2 separate regions of the Homo sapiens genome follow, and region 1 is linked to region 2. The links are contacts of gene promoters, found by promoter capture Hi-C in blood cells and fetal thymus (Javierre and others, 2016). All regions are on one chromosome and are shown on one strand. Each heading gives the region's core, a stretch centred on a gene start or on the middle of the fragment in contact. The rest is flanking DNA. Distances are from core to core; before and after follow the strand shown.

Evidence for each region. Contacts are between HindIII fragments. The CHiCAGO score rates a contact against its expected background, and 5 or more counts as called.
Region 1: a contact is called between the fragment with the promoter of LRRC47 here and the fragment with the promoter of DNAJC11 in region 2, in 1 of 17 cell types (neutrophils). The highest score is 5.7, in neutrophils.

What each region holds. Positions count from the first base shown.
Region 1 is chr1:3,793,715-3,799,493 of GRCh38, forward strand. It overlaps LRRC47 (leucine rich repeat containing 47), which reads right to left and starts at 2,784. Exons shown (of 7, transcript NM_020710.3): 1 at 2,148-2,784. The coding sequence starts at 2,762. RefSeq lists enhancers at 1-330, 2,671-2,965 and a silencer at 2,346-2,555. The HindIII fragment of the contact is 14,897 bases long and covers 1-5,779 here.
Region 2 is chr1:6,697,225-6,703,200 of GRCh38, forward strand. DNAJC11 (DnaJ heat shock protein family (Hsp40) member C11) reads right to left here and starts at 4,592. Exons shown (of 16, transcript NM_018198.4): 1 at 4,505-4,592. The coding sequence starts at 4,576. RefSeq lists a silencer at 4,379-4,828. The HindIII fragment of the contact is 16,969 bases long and covers 1-5,976 here.

The sequences.
Region 1 (5,779 bases), core at 1,534-4,033, 2.9 Mb before region 2:
TACCTGAAACCAAAAAGAGCTCCCCGCAGCCCCAGCCAGAAGTGACTCAGTAAGCAGGACCGTTTCCCACACCCCTATGATTGCACCTCAACCAATCAGCAGCAAGCACCCGTTGCCTAGCCACCCTCCCCTTTCCCCAAACTATCCTTGAAAAACCCCGCCTCCAAATTTTTGGGGAAGCTGATTTAGTAATAAAACTCGGCCGGGCGCGGTGGCTCATGCCTGTAATCTCAGCACCTTGGAGGCCAAGACAGGCAGATCATGAGGTCAGGAGATCGAGACCATCCTGGCTAACACAGTGAAACTCCATCTCTACTAAAAATACGAAAAATTAGCTGGGTGTTGTGGCGGGCGCTTGTAGTCCCAGCTACTCGGGAGGCTGAGGCAGGAGAATGGCGTGAACCCGGGAGGCGGAGCTTGCAGTGAGCCAAGGTTGCACCACTGCACACCAGCCTGGGAGACAGAGCGAGACTCCATCTCAAACAACAATAATAATAACAGTAAAACTCCAGTCTCCACTTTAGCTGGCTCTACATGTGTAAAACTTTCTCTATTGCAACCCTCCTGCCCTGATAAATCAGCTCTATCCGGGTAGTGGATAAAATGAACCCATTGGGCAGTTACATCAGTAACCATGTGTCACTCTACAGTGGGTTTGTTTTTTTTGCCACAGGGTCTCGCTCTGTTCAGGCTGGTATCACAGCTCACTGCAACCTCCACTTCCTGGGCTCAAGTGATCCTCCCACCTCAGCCTCCCGAGTAGCTGGGACTACAGGCACGCGCCACCAGGCCCAGCTAATTTTTGTATTTTTGTAGAGATGGGGTTTCACCATGTTGGCCAGGCTGGTGGTGTGACCTCAAGCGATCTGCCCGCCTCAGCTTCCCAAAGTGCTGGGATTACAGGTGTGAGCCACCGCGCCCGGCCAGGGTTTGTCTATATATCCTTATATAGATATGTTACTTGTAAAATGAGTTGCAATGTCTTGAGGAATTGCTACAGCAAATAAATAGATAAGCTGCTAAAGTGTATACGTATTTTATTAAGAAATGTCCACATAGGCCAGGCGCGGTGGCTCACACCTGTAATCCTAGCACTTTGGAAGGCCGAGACAGGCGGATCACATGAGGTCAGGAGTTCGAGACCAGCCTGACCAACACAGTGAAACCCGTCTCTACTAAAAACACAAAAGTTAGCCGGGCGTGGTGGTGTGCGCCTGTAAGCCCAGCTACTCAGGAGGCTGAGGCAGAAGAACCGCTTGAACCCGGGAGGCGGAGGTTGAAGTGAGCCGAGATCGCGCCACTGCACTCCAGCCTGGGTGACAGGACCAGACTACATCTCAAAAAAAAAAAAAAAAAAAAGAAATGTCTGCATAAATTCAAAGACGAAAAATGGGGGAAGAAATGCAGGACTGCCTTAAGGATGAAACCAAAAGAGAAGATGGAGAGAACATCTGGCTGGGTTTAGGTCGTGGTTCTGCCATGTGGCTTCCCTACTTTCTTTTAGGCAACAGATTCAATGGGCACCTGTTATAGGCCAAGCATTATCGCGGGGCCTGGGGATCCAAGATTAATTAGTAAACAGACGCTGGACAATATAGTCTGGAGAAAAACCCAAGTTACCTGCTGCTTACTTTGGGCAGGCCCTTTGGCTTTCTGTAAAACAGGAATAACCACCCCTACCTTGGAAAGCTGCTATTAGGATGAAGTGAAATATAATCTTCAAGATCACAGCATGTGGCATTATGCAAAATCCAGGGTGCCCCCTTCACCACCAGACTCACTCTCAAGTCACTTCACAAGTACTAGATACAAAAAAGACAGGTCTCTACGCTCGATCTACAGGAGAAGCCAGGTTTGCTAACAATTACAAAATAGCGTACCACGTGTAAAAGTCCAGTTAACAGAATGCGGGGGAGTTCAGAGGCCACCTAGTATGTTGGTGTGGCCAGGAGAAGGGGGAGTTGGAAGGCGGCATCTGCTTCCCAGGGGTGATGCCCCCCGCAGCTGGCTCCTTTCAGCCTTGTAGGAATTCCCTGGGCCCAGTGCCCCAGGGGGCGTCACTAGGAACTGCTCGGCCCCGAGAGGGGTTCCTTCTCCAGGGCTACTCCAAGGCCCCATCCCGCCCCGCCCGGGCAGCCCCCGCTGACCTTGAGCGAGGCCAGGTGGGCGATGTCGGGGCTGAGTTCTCGGAGGCAGTTGTCAGCAGCCGCCAGTTCACTGAGCAGGGGCAGCGCGCCGGGGCGAAAGAGCTCGGCGGGAAAGGAGTCTAGGCAATTGCCGGTGAGGTTGAGGCTCTGCAGGCGCGGGGCGCAGCGCGCCAGGTCGGCTGGCAGCTCGCGCAGCCGGTTGCCGCTGAGGTTGAGGCTCTGCAGCTGCGGAAGGCCCGGCGGCTCGGCGGGGCCCAGGCCTTGGCCCGGCGGCAGCGCCTCCAGCGCGTTGCCCGACAGGTCGAGCACCCGAAGGGCAGGCAGCGGCCCGAGCTCGGGGCTCAGGCCGGGCCCCAGCGCGTTGCGCCGCAGCACGAGGCTGTGCAGCTGCGGCAGGCCCTGCGCCAGGCCAGGCCCCGGCGCGCGCAAGCTCCCGCAGCCGCTCACTTCCAAGTAGTGCAGCAGCGGCAGGGTGAAAAGCCGCGGCGGCAGCTGCCCACCCGCCGCCCGCACTCGCTCCTCCAGCCCGGGCCCCGTCAGCAGCAGCTCCCGCCGCCGCTCGCGCTCAGCCAGCTCCAGCTCCGGCCAAGACTCTGACACCGCTGCCGCCGCCATGGCGCCTCAGCTGCTGGCAGGCACCCACCCACCAGGGTGCTTCCGGGGCAGCGCGCGCCACTTCCGACCTGTGCCGGAAAAGCCCATAGAGAAGCCACCTGGCTGCTAGAGTGCCGCCGCGCGTGCCATAGAGGAGAGTGGCCTCTCCTGCGTAGAGCCGGGGAGGGGCTGGAGAGCGGCTCGCTCTCTCCGCGGGTAGGGGTGAGGGTGGGGGTTATGAACCCAAAAATATCTGAGACAGGACTCAATGAAATGTAAAAAGTTTATTTTGCCAAGGTTAAGGACACGCCAGTGTCACAACCCTAGGAGATCGTGACGATGGTGCCCAGGGAAGTTGGGATGCAGCTTGGTTTTGTACATTTTGGGGAGACGTGAGACATCAATCAACACGTGCGAGTGTACCTTGGTTCAGCCCAGAAAGGCTGGACAATTCCAGGAGAGGGCTTTCAGGTCACAGGTAGAGAAGAGACCGGAGGGTGCATTCTTTTGAGTCTTTGTTCAGCCTTTCGCTGACTGCACAATTTATTATGCATGTGAGACGCGGGTAGAGGAATAGTCGCTTATGCTTTAGTCTGGCTTACTGAATCTTCATTTCTACGTAAACAGTAGAGCAAAGGAAGCGATCAGATATGCATTTGTCTAGGTGAGCAGAGGGATGGCTTTGAGTTCAGTCCTTTGTCTCGCACCTGTGAAGGGAAGCTATCAATTTGCATTGCCAGGGTGAAATTCAACAGAACTGTTTTAGGGTAAAGATCTTGAGGCCCACAGAGAATTTCTTTGTGGGCAAATTGTGAGGGAGGTGTGTAGCTTTAAAAATATGTATTTGTAACTATCTTATTTAGGAATAAGACGGGAGGCCGATTTGCCCGAAGCAGTTCCCAGCTTGACTTTTTCCTTTGACTTAGTGATTGTGGGGTTTTGAGATTTATTTTCCTTTCACAGGGTGGGGTGCGGGCGGATGGAGGAGCCAGAGTCTGTGCTCTACTGTGCCCCGACCGGCTTGTTTTGGAATTCCTGCACTTTTGAGTGGTGTAAACCAAAACCAAAATTCTTTTTTTTTTCTTGAGACGGAGTCTCGCTCTGTCACCCAGGCTGGAGTGCAGTGATGCTATCTTGGTTCACTGCAACCTCCGCCTCCTGGGTTCAAGCAATTCTCCTGCCTCAGCCTCCCGCTGGAACTACAGGTGCATGCCACCGTGGCCGGTTAATTTTTATATTAACCGTGTTAATATAATTTTTATATTAACCGGTTTTCGCCATGTTGGCCAGGCTGGTCTCGAACACCTGACCTCAGGTGATCTGCTCGCCTCAGCCCCCCAAAGTGCTGGGCTCACAGGCACAAGCCACCGCACCCAGCCCCCAAATTCTTATTTATTTATTTATTTATTTATTGAGACAGAGTCTTGCTCTGTTACCCAGGCTGGAGTGCAGTGGTTCCAGCTCGGCTCATTGCAGCCTCAACTTCCCTGGCTCCAGTGATCCTCCCACCTCAGCCCCTGAGTAGCTGGTACCACAGGCATGTGCCACCACGCCTGGCTAATTTTTGTATTTTTTGTAGAGCTGGGGTTTTGCCATGTTGCCTAGGCTGGTCTCAAACCCATGAACTCAAGCAATCCACCTGCCTCAACCTCCCAAATTGCTAGGATTACAGGTGTGAGTCACCAAACCTGGCCAAAAAATAAAATTCTAGAGGCTGGGCACGGTGGCTCATGCCTGTAATCCCAGCACTTTGGAAGGCCGAGGCGGGCGGATCACCAGGTCAGGAGATCGAGACCATCCTGGTGAACACGGTGAAACCCCGTCTCTACTAAAAATACAAAAAAAATTAGCCGGGCTTGGTGGCAGGCGCCTGTAGTCCCAGCTACTCGGGAGGCTGAGGCAGGAGAATGGCAAGAACCCAGAGGGCGGAGCTTGCAGTGAGCGGAGATTGCGCCACTGCACTCCAGCCTGGGCGACAGAGTGAGACTCCGTCTCAAAATAAATAAATAAAAATAAAATAAAATTCTAAGCCCCCCAACCATCTGAGTGGACCCCTCCTCTGGGCCAAGGGCATTCCCTAGTTAATCTGAAAAACTAGTTCAGGCCATGATGGGAAGGGTCGGATGTGGAGGGGTAGGGGTTGGACATGCCTCATTATATTCTCCTCCCTTTGGGAATTCAGGCCCACCTGACCATCATTAATATCAACACAGACTTTAAGACTGACAAAGCCAGGCCAGGTGTGGTGGCTCATGGCTGTAATCCCAGCACTTTGAGAGGCCATGGCGGGTGGATCACTTGAGGTCAGGAGTTTGAGACCAGCCTGACCAACATGGTGAAAACCCATCCCTACTAAAAATACAAAAATTAGCTGGGCATGGTGGCGGGCGCCTGTAATCCAAGCTACTCGGGAGGCTGAGGCAGGAGAATTGCTTAAACCTAGGAGGCGGAGGTTGCAGTGAGCCAAGATTGCACCACTGCATTCCAGCCTGGGTGACAGAGCGAGACTCCATCTCAAAATAACAACAACAATAAAAGACTGACAAAGCTGACTCTTTGTAGCAATGATACCAAATTCTAGCCTGTTTCTAGTAGAGCATTATGTGACTGATCAAGGCCCTGAAGGAAATTGAAGTATTTTACCCCAAATTATATTTCCTTGCTGTATCTTAAAACAATCCTGCAAGGCTGCCTATTGTGGGGGAAATCCACATTCTGAAGATAGTATCCTTGCTTTGCTAGGCCTTTTTCCTGATCCAGGAGAGAATCAACTCTGATAATAAATAAATAAACAAAGAAAAAAACAAAAACCATTTACAGGCCGGGCGCGGTGGCTCACTCCTGTAATCCCAACACTTTGGGAGGCTGAGGCAGGCGGATCACCTGAGGTCAGGAGTTCAAGACCAGCCTGGCCAACATGGTGAAACCCCGTCTTAACTAAAAATACAAAAATTAGCCAGGTGGGGTGGTGGGCGCCCGTGATCCCAGCTACTTGGAGGCTAGGGCAGGAGCTTCAACCCAGGAGGCAGAAGTTGCAC
Region 2 (5,976 bases), core at 3,342-5,841:
TCTAGAAGGAGAATCATTAAAGATCATGTGTCTTGTCATAGGAGAACGGGGGGTCCTTTCCAGCTGCCTGCTTCACTCTCTCCAACGGCGGCAACAATGGGGTCTCCAACCTTTTAGCACCACGGACTGGTTTCATGGAAGATAATTTTTCCACAGACTAGTGGGAGTGGAATGAAACTGTTCCACCTGGGATCATCAGGCATTAGTCAAATTCTCATAAAGAGGACCTAACCTAGATCCCTTGCATGTGCAGTTCCCAATAGGGTTCATGCTCCTATGAGAAGCTAATGCCACCACCAATCTGACAGGCAGAGCTCAGGCGGTGATGCTTGCTTGCCCGATGCTAACCGCTTGCTTGCCCGACGCTAACCGCTTGCTTGCCCACCACTCACCTCCTGCTGTGCGGCCCAATTCCTAACAAGCCACAGACCAGTACTGGTCCATGGCCAGGGGGTTGAGGACCCCTGCTCTAGAATACAAATTTAAGGGGATATTTTAAAGTTTAAATCCTGGAGAGGGAGATTCTTCAGCTGATTGTTGACATTTCTATATTAATCCAATTATATACCTCTATTATGCTTATAATTTTTTTTTTTTTGAGACAGAGTCTTGCTCTGTCACCCAGGCTGGAGTGCAGTGGCGCAATCTCGGCTCACTGCAAGCTCCGCCTCCTGGGTTCACACCATTCTCCTGCCTCAGCCTCCTACAGGCGCCCGCCACCACGCCCGGCTAATTTTTTGTATTTTTAGTACAGACGGGGTTTCACCGTGTTAGTCAGGATGGTCTCCATCTCCTGACCTCGTGATCCGCCCGTCTTGGCCTCCCAAAGTGCTGGGATTACAGGCTTGAGCCACGCGCCCAGCCTATGCTTATAATTTTAAAGTAGGATTCCCTGGTTTTGTCTAGAATTGTTTCCATTTGAGATTTCTAAAGAAAACTCTCTGAACTCTACTGAACATTGAGAGTTTTGAGGACACTCTTTTGAAGGTACTTTGAAGTATCAGTGGGAACAGGGCCTTGCCTCTCACAGCTATACTTAAATGGCAACTACTCTAGAACTGACAGCAAACACACAAACAGGTATTAAGATATTCTTCCAACCACACATTAAGATTTAAGATTACTCTGACTTTTTTCCAACTAAATCACGTTATTTCAACTTCACGTTTGATTTCACACAAAAAATTCCAGCAAATATCAAGTTCAGACATCACCTTCAGAGCTTCTAATGGAATCCCGGGATGGAAAACCAGCACACCACACCTGAGTATGACATTTAACACCGAGTTTGCTGACGAAGACAACAGAAAGTGACTTCTGCAAGGGAGCATGTTTCATATGGATTTAACCTATAGCCATATAGCCATAAATATGGAAAGTGCCTTCACTCATTGGGAGAAGTAAAAAAAAAAAAAAAATTTAAGAAATATTTTTTGGCTGGGTGCAGTGGCTCATGCCTGTAATCCCAGCACTTTGGGAGGCTGAGATGGGTGGACTGCTTGAGCTCAGGAGTTTGAGACCAGCCTGGGCAACACAGTGAGACCCTGTCTCTACAAAAACTACAAAAATCAGCCAGCTGTGGTGGTGTGTGCCTGTAATACCAGCTACTCTGGTGGCTGAGGTGGGAGGATCACCTGAGCCGGGGAAGGTCGAGGCTGCTATGAGCCACGACTGCACCACTGCACTCCAGCCTGGGTGAAGTCTAATTATATATATAAATATATATATTTATATATAAATATTTATATCTATGTTTTTATATATACTTCATCCTTAAGTCTAATAACAGTGACAGGCCTGGCCAGGCATGGTGGTTCATGCCTGTAATCCCGGCACTTTGGGAGGCAGAGGTGGGAGGATCGCTTGAGCTCAGGAGACCAACCTGGGCAACACAGAGAGACCCTGTCTCTACAAAAGATACAAAAATTAGCTGGGTATGGTGGCATGTGCCTGTGGTCCTAGCTACTAGCGAGTCTGAGGTGGGAGCACCTGAGCCCGGGGAAGTCAAGGTTGCAGTGCACCATGATCCACCTCTGCACTTCAGCCTGGGCAACAGAGTGAGACCCTGTCTCTAAACAAACAAACAAAATTTCTTTGGCTCCCATCCGTAAGTCCAAAAACAATGACAGGCTCTACAGTTTCAGCAGTTTCAAGGTATACCTTTGACAAAATCTTCACCTAGGACTCTGGCTAAAACTATTACTCTAGACCTGCTTGATCATCTGCAGCAGCTGCCTACGGTTCAGTACGCCTGATAAATGGCTGCTCAATTACTGACAACCCAGACTAAGTACGAATGATTTCAGAAAGGCTGGCTTCATTTATTGCTTGACTTCTAAAAACTGGAAAAAAAGTATAACTAGCCAGACATCTTCATTTAAAGGGAAAGAGACTTAAGGCTAAATAAGTGATTAGCCCATTAAAACCTAGATGATGGGTTGATGGGTGCAGCAAACCACCATGGCTCATGTTTACCTATGTAACAAACCTGCACGTTCTGCACATGTATCCTGGAACTTAAAGTATAATTTAAAAAAAAAAGGAAAAAAAGGAGTGATTAGCCCGAAGTGTTGATTAATGAGAACAAGAACCCCCAGGTGCCCTATGGCAGCCTAACAAAATCTGCAATTCCCAAAGATATTTCACTGGACATTCTCATAGTACAGTGGCCCATACATTCGAGGGATTCTTTCATGAGGTGCTCAGTATCAAGCCTCTGAGCCCAAGCTAAGCCATCATATCCCCTATGACCTGCACATATACATCCAGATGGCCTGAAGCAACTGAAGATCCACAAAAGAAGTGAAAATAGCCAGGTCCTGCCTTAACTGAAGATATTCCACCATGGTGATTTACTCCTGCCCCACCCTAACTGGTCAATTGGCCTTATGACAATACACGCTCCCCGCCCTTGTGATAATGTACTTTGTGATATTCCGCCCTTAAGAAGGTACTTTGTAATATTCTCCCCACTCTTGAGAATGTACTTTGTGAGATCCACCCCCTGCCCACAAAAAATTGCTCCTAACTCCACCGCCTATCCCAAACCTATAAGAACTAATGATAATCCCACCACCCTTTGCTGACTCTCTTTTCGGACTCAGCCCATACGCACCCAGGTGATTAAAAAGGTTTATTGCTCACACAAAGCCTGTTTGGTGGTCTCTTCACACGGACGCGCGTGACACTCAAGGATACAGTACCAGAACTAGCAGCTTTGTAGTCCAAGGACTGGTAAGGTAAGGTGACAGACTAGCATGGAGCTCACAAGCTGGGCTCCAGAGTCAGACTGCCTGGGTTGAGTTCAGGCTCTTGCACTTTCTAGTAGTGTGACTTTAGACACACTACTTAATCTCTCTATGCCTTGGTTTCCTCAAGTGTAAATCAAGGGCTATCATAATACTTACCTTAAGAGCTATCCTCAGAATTAAATGAGATAACAGTACAAAGTTCATTCAGCATAGTGGTCCCACACAAGATAAGTTTGTATTATTAACATCACATAGACTAATATTTACTGACAACACACACTGAACCCGCTTTGGTTAGCATAGCCAAACTTGGCTAGCTTTCATTACCACTGGAAAACCTGAGAGATGGAATTAGGAATTCTCTGGCAGGGCTGAAAAGTCTGGACCCATCGGCTTAAAGAAACTGATCCACCTCATGACCTGACCCTGGAAGCCTTCTCGCCCTTCACACCTATCTCAACTCCAGACTAGTCAAGAACAAAGGAGTGTAGTGGGGCCCTACTACTGCCAGGCTATGTGAGACTCTCTCATGTTATCTTTTATTCGTTGAGGAGACAGGGTACAAGTGCTTGGTGTGAATGTTGAAGCTGTTGTTAGGGCACCACTTTTCTGGCCTAGGGCTTCTTCCTAATCTGCAGCCTCCGAGCCGAGGGTCTGTGTCCCGGAGGCTCTGCCTGCAATTTCTGGACATCGGGTCCAGGGGAATGAAAGAGGGCATGAGACGCATGCCTCTGAGGCTGGACCCACTTCAGAGGCAGAGCGTCCCCACGAAAGACTCGGGAACCGGAAAAAGCCCTAAGGACGTTCCCTAGTGGCCTTGACCTTGGTGGGTGAGACTCAGTTCGCCATCCTGCTGGCGGCGGGCGATGACACAGCCCCTCAGCCAGGACGAGTATGTGGGCTGAGCGCGAGACGGGGTCTCGGAGGACTGCTAACCCCACTACGGTGGCCTCCTCGGGGCCCCCGTTTCCTCTTGAGCGTGCGGGGGCCTCTGGCCCTACCCGGACACAGTGCACGCGGCGCACTGGCCTTCAGGAGCTGGGGCGGAGGCTGGCCCCGGAACCCCCGGCGGGAGGGTCTGGGCGGTGGGGACGCCTCCATCGGGCGGCTGGCGTGCACGTCGCCGGGGTCACGCGGCCTCCCCGACGGACCCGAGCCTCCCGTGGCGGGGGTGGGGCGGCCACCGCCAGCCCGGCCCTCCCGAACGACCGGGCTCGGCCTCAGCCCCCAGAGCGTCCAGCCGCTGGCCTCACCTCCCTGCGCACGTTCAGCAACGAGTAATAGTCTTCATTGTCCAGCTCCTCCTCGCTCAAGGCCGTCGCCATCTTCGCAACCTTTCACCCCGCCAAACCGGCAAGGCCGTGCTCAAGAGGGGCCAGTGATCCGCGTCAGGGACAGCGCGGGCCAGCCCGGCTGCGCCACAGCGGCCCCTGGCGGCCCGGAGCCGTCCGCGCCCGGCGGGAGTGCGCCTGCGCTTTGCGCCCCCGCGCGGCCTAGGGCGGGACGCGGCGCCTAGGCAGCCCTGGCGGGGTGACCACGCGGGTGTCTCTTCGTGCTCCCAATGGACGCGTGGCACGCGGCGTGGCTGCGTCCTCGGGGGCCTGAGATCCAGCCAGGACTCCCTAGGGCTTTTCCTGTACTAGAAAGGGAAACTTTGCTTTTTTTTTTTTTTTTTGAGACGGAGTCATACTCTGTCGCCCAGCCTGGTGTGTGTGCAGTGGCGCAATCCCGGCTCACTGAAGCCTCCACCTCCCGGGTTCAAGCGATTCTCCTGCCTCAGCCTCCCGAGTAGCTGGGACTCCAGGCGCGCGCCACCACGCCCAGTTAATTTTTTTGTATTTTTGGTAGAGACACGGTTTCACCATGTTGGCCAGGCTGGTCTGAGGCTCCTGAACTCAGGAGATCCTCGGCCTCCCAAAGTGCTGGGATTACAGGCATGAGCCACCGCGTCCTGCCTAGAAAGGGAAACTTTGAAGTCACCTCCAGGAGATTGTCATCCTCTGGGAGACAAACCCCTGTGATACCACCTGTTACCCCACTGGCCCCAAACTCCTGGAAGAAGCGCGAGGTGCCCCCAGTGCAGGGTGCATCCGGATCCTAGATATCCCCCAAATGACATTTGTTCCTACCTCCATTGTCTTTTCTCTTGGCCACCCAGAAGCCTTCCTGCCCAGAACAGGCCTCCTCATTTTAGTTATTTGTTATTGCTCTAATTTAGGAGCACCTGGCCATCTTTTCTGCTGCTTAAATGACAAAGCAATAACTATTTGGTTCCTGATATAATTGTCTCTGGCAGGCATGTGTACCTGCAGTCCCTACCCCAGAGCCATTCTCCTGTAAATTTCTCCCTTATAATTTATCGGTGGAGTCTAATTGATTTCAACCTGGTGCCTGCTGTTTGGTGCATTATTAAAGATGTCTTGGTTACAACAATCTAAATAATTTAAAGGTCTTCGAAATGACGCCATTGTCAAGGGAAGGTGGACAGCAGCCCACTCTTGCCACCTGTTTGGTTCCCGCTGACCTGCGCAAGTCTCAGAAACCTTTGTTGTTCCTTCACTAACCACCAGTCCATAGCCATCCCCGTTGCCCTTCATAAGCAGGTCTCCTGGGAAGCCCCGAACACCTGTCTGTGGATTTGAGAGGCTGATTTCTTTCTCTTTCTAATTTTTGGCCAGATGTGCACCATCTGGGCCTGTGTCTCATCCCTTCCAAGTTGCCCAGC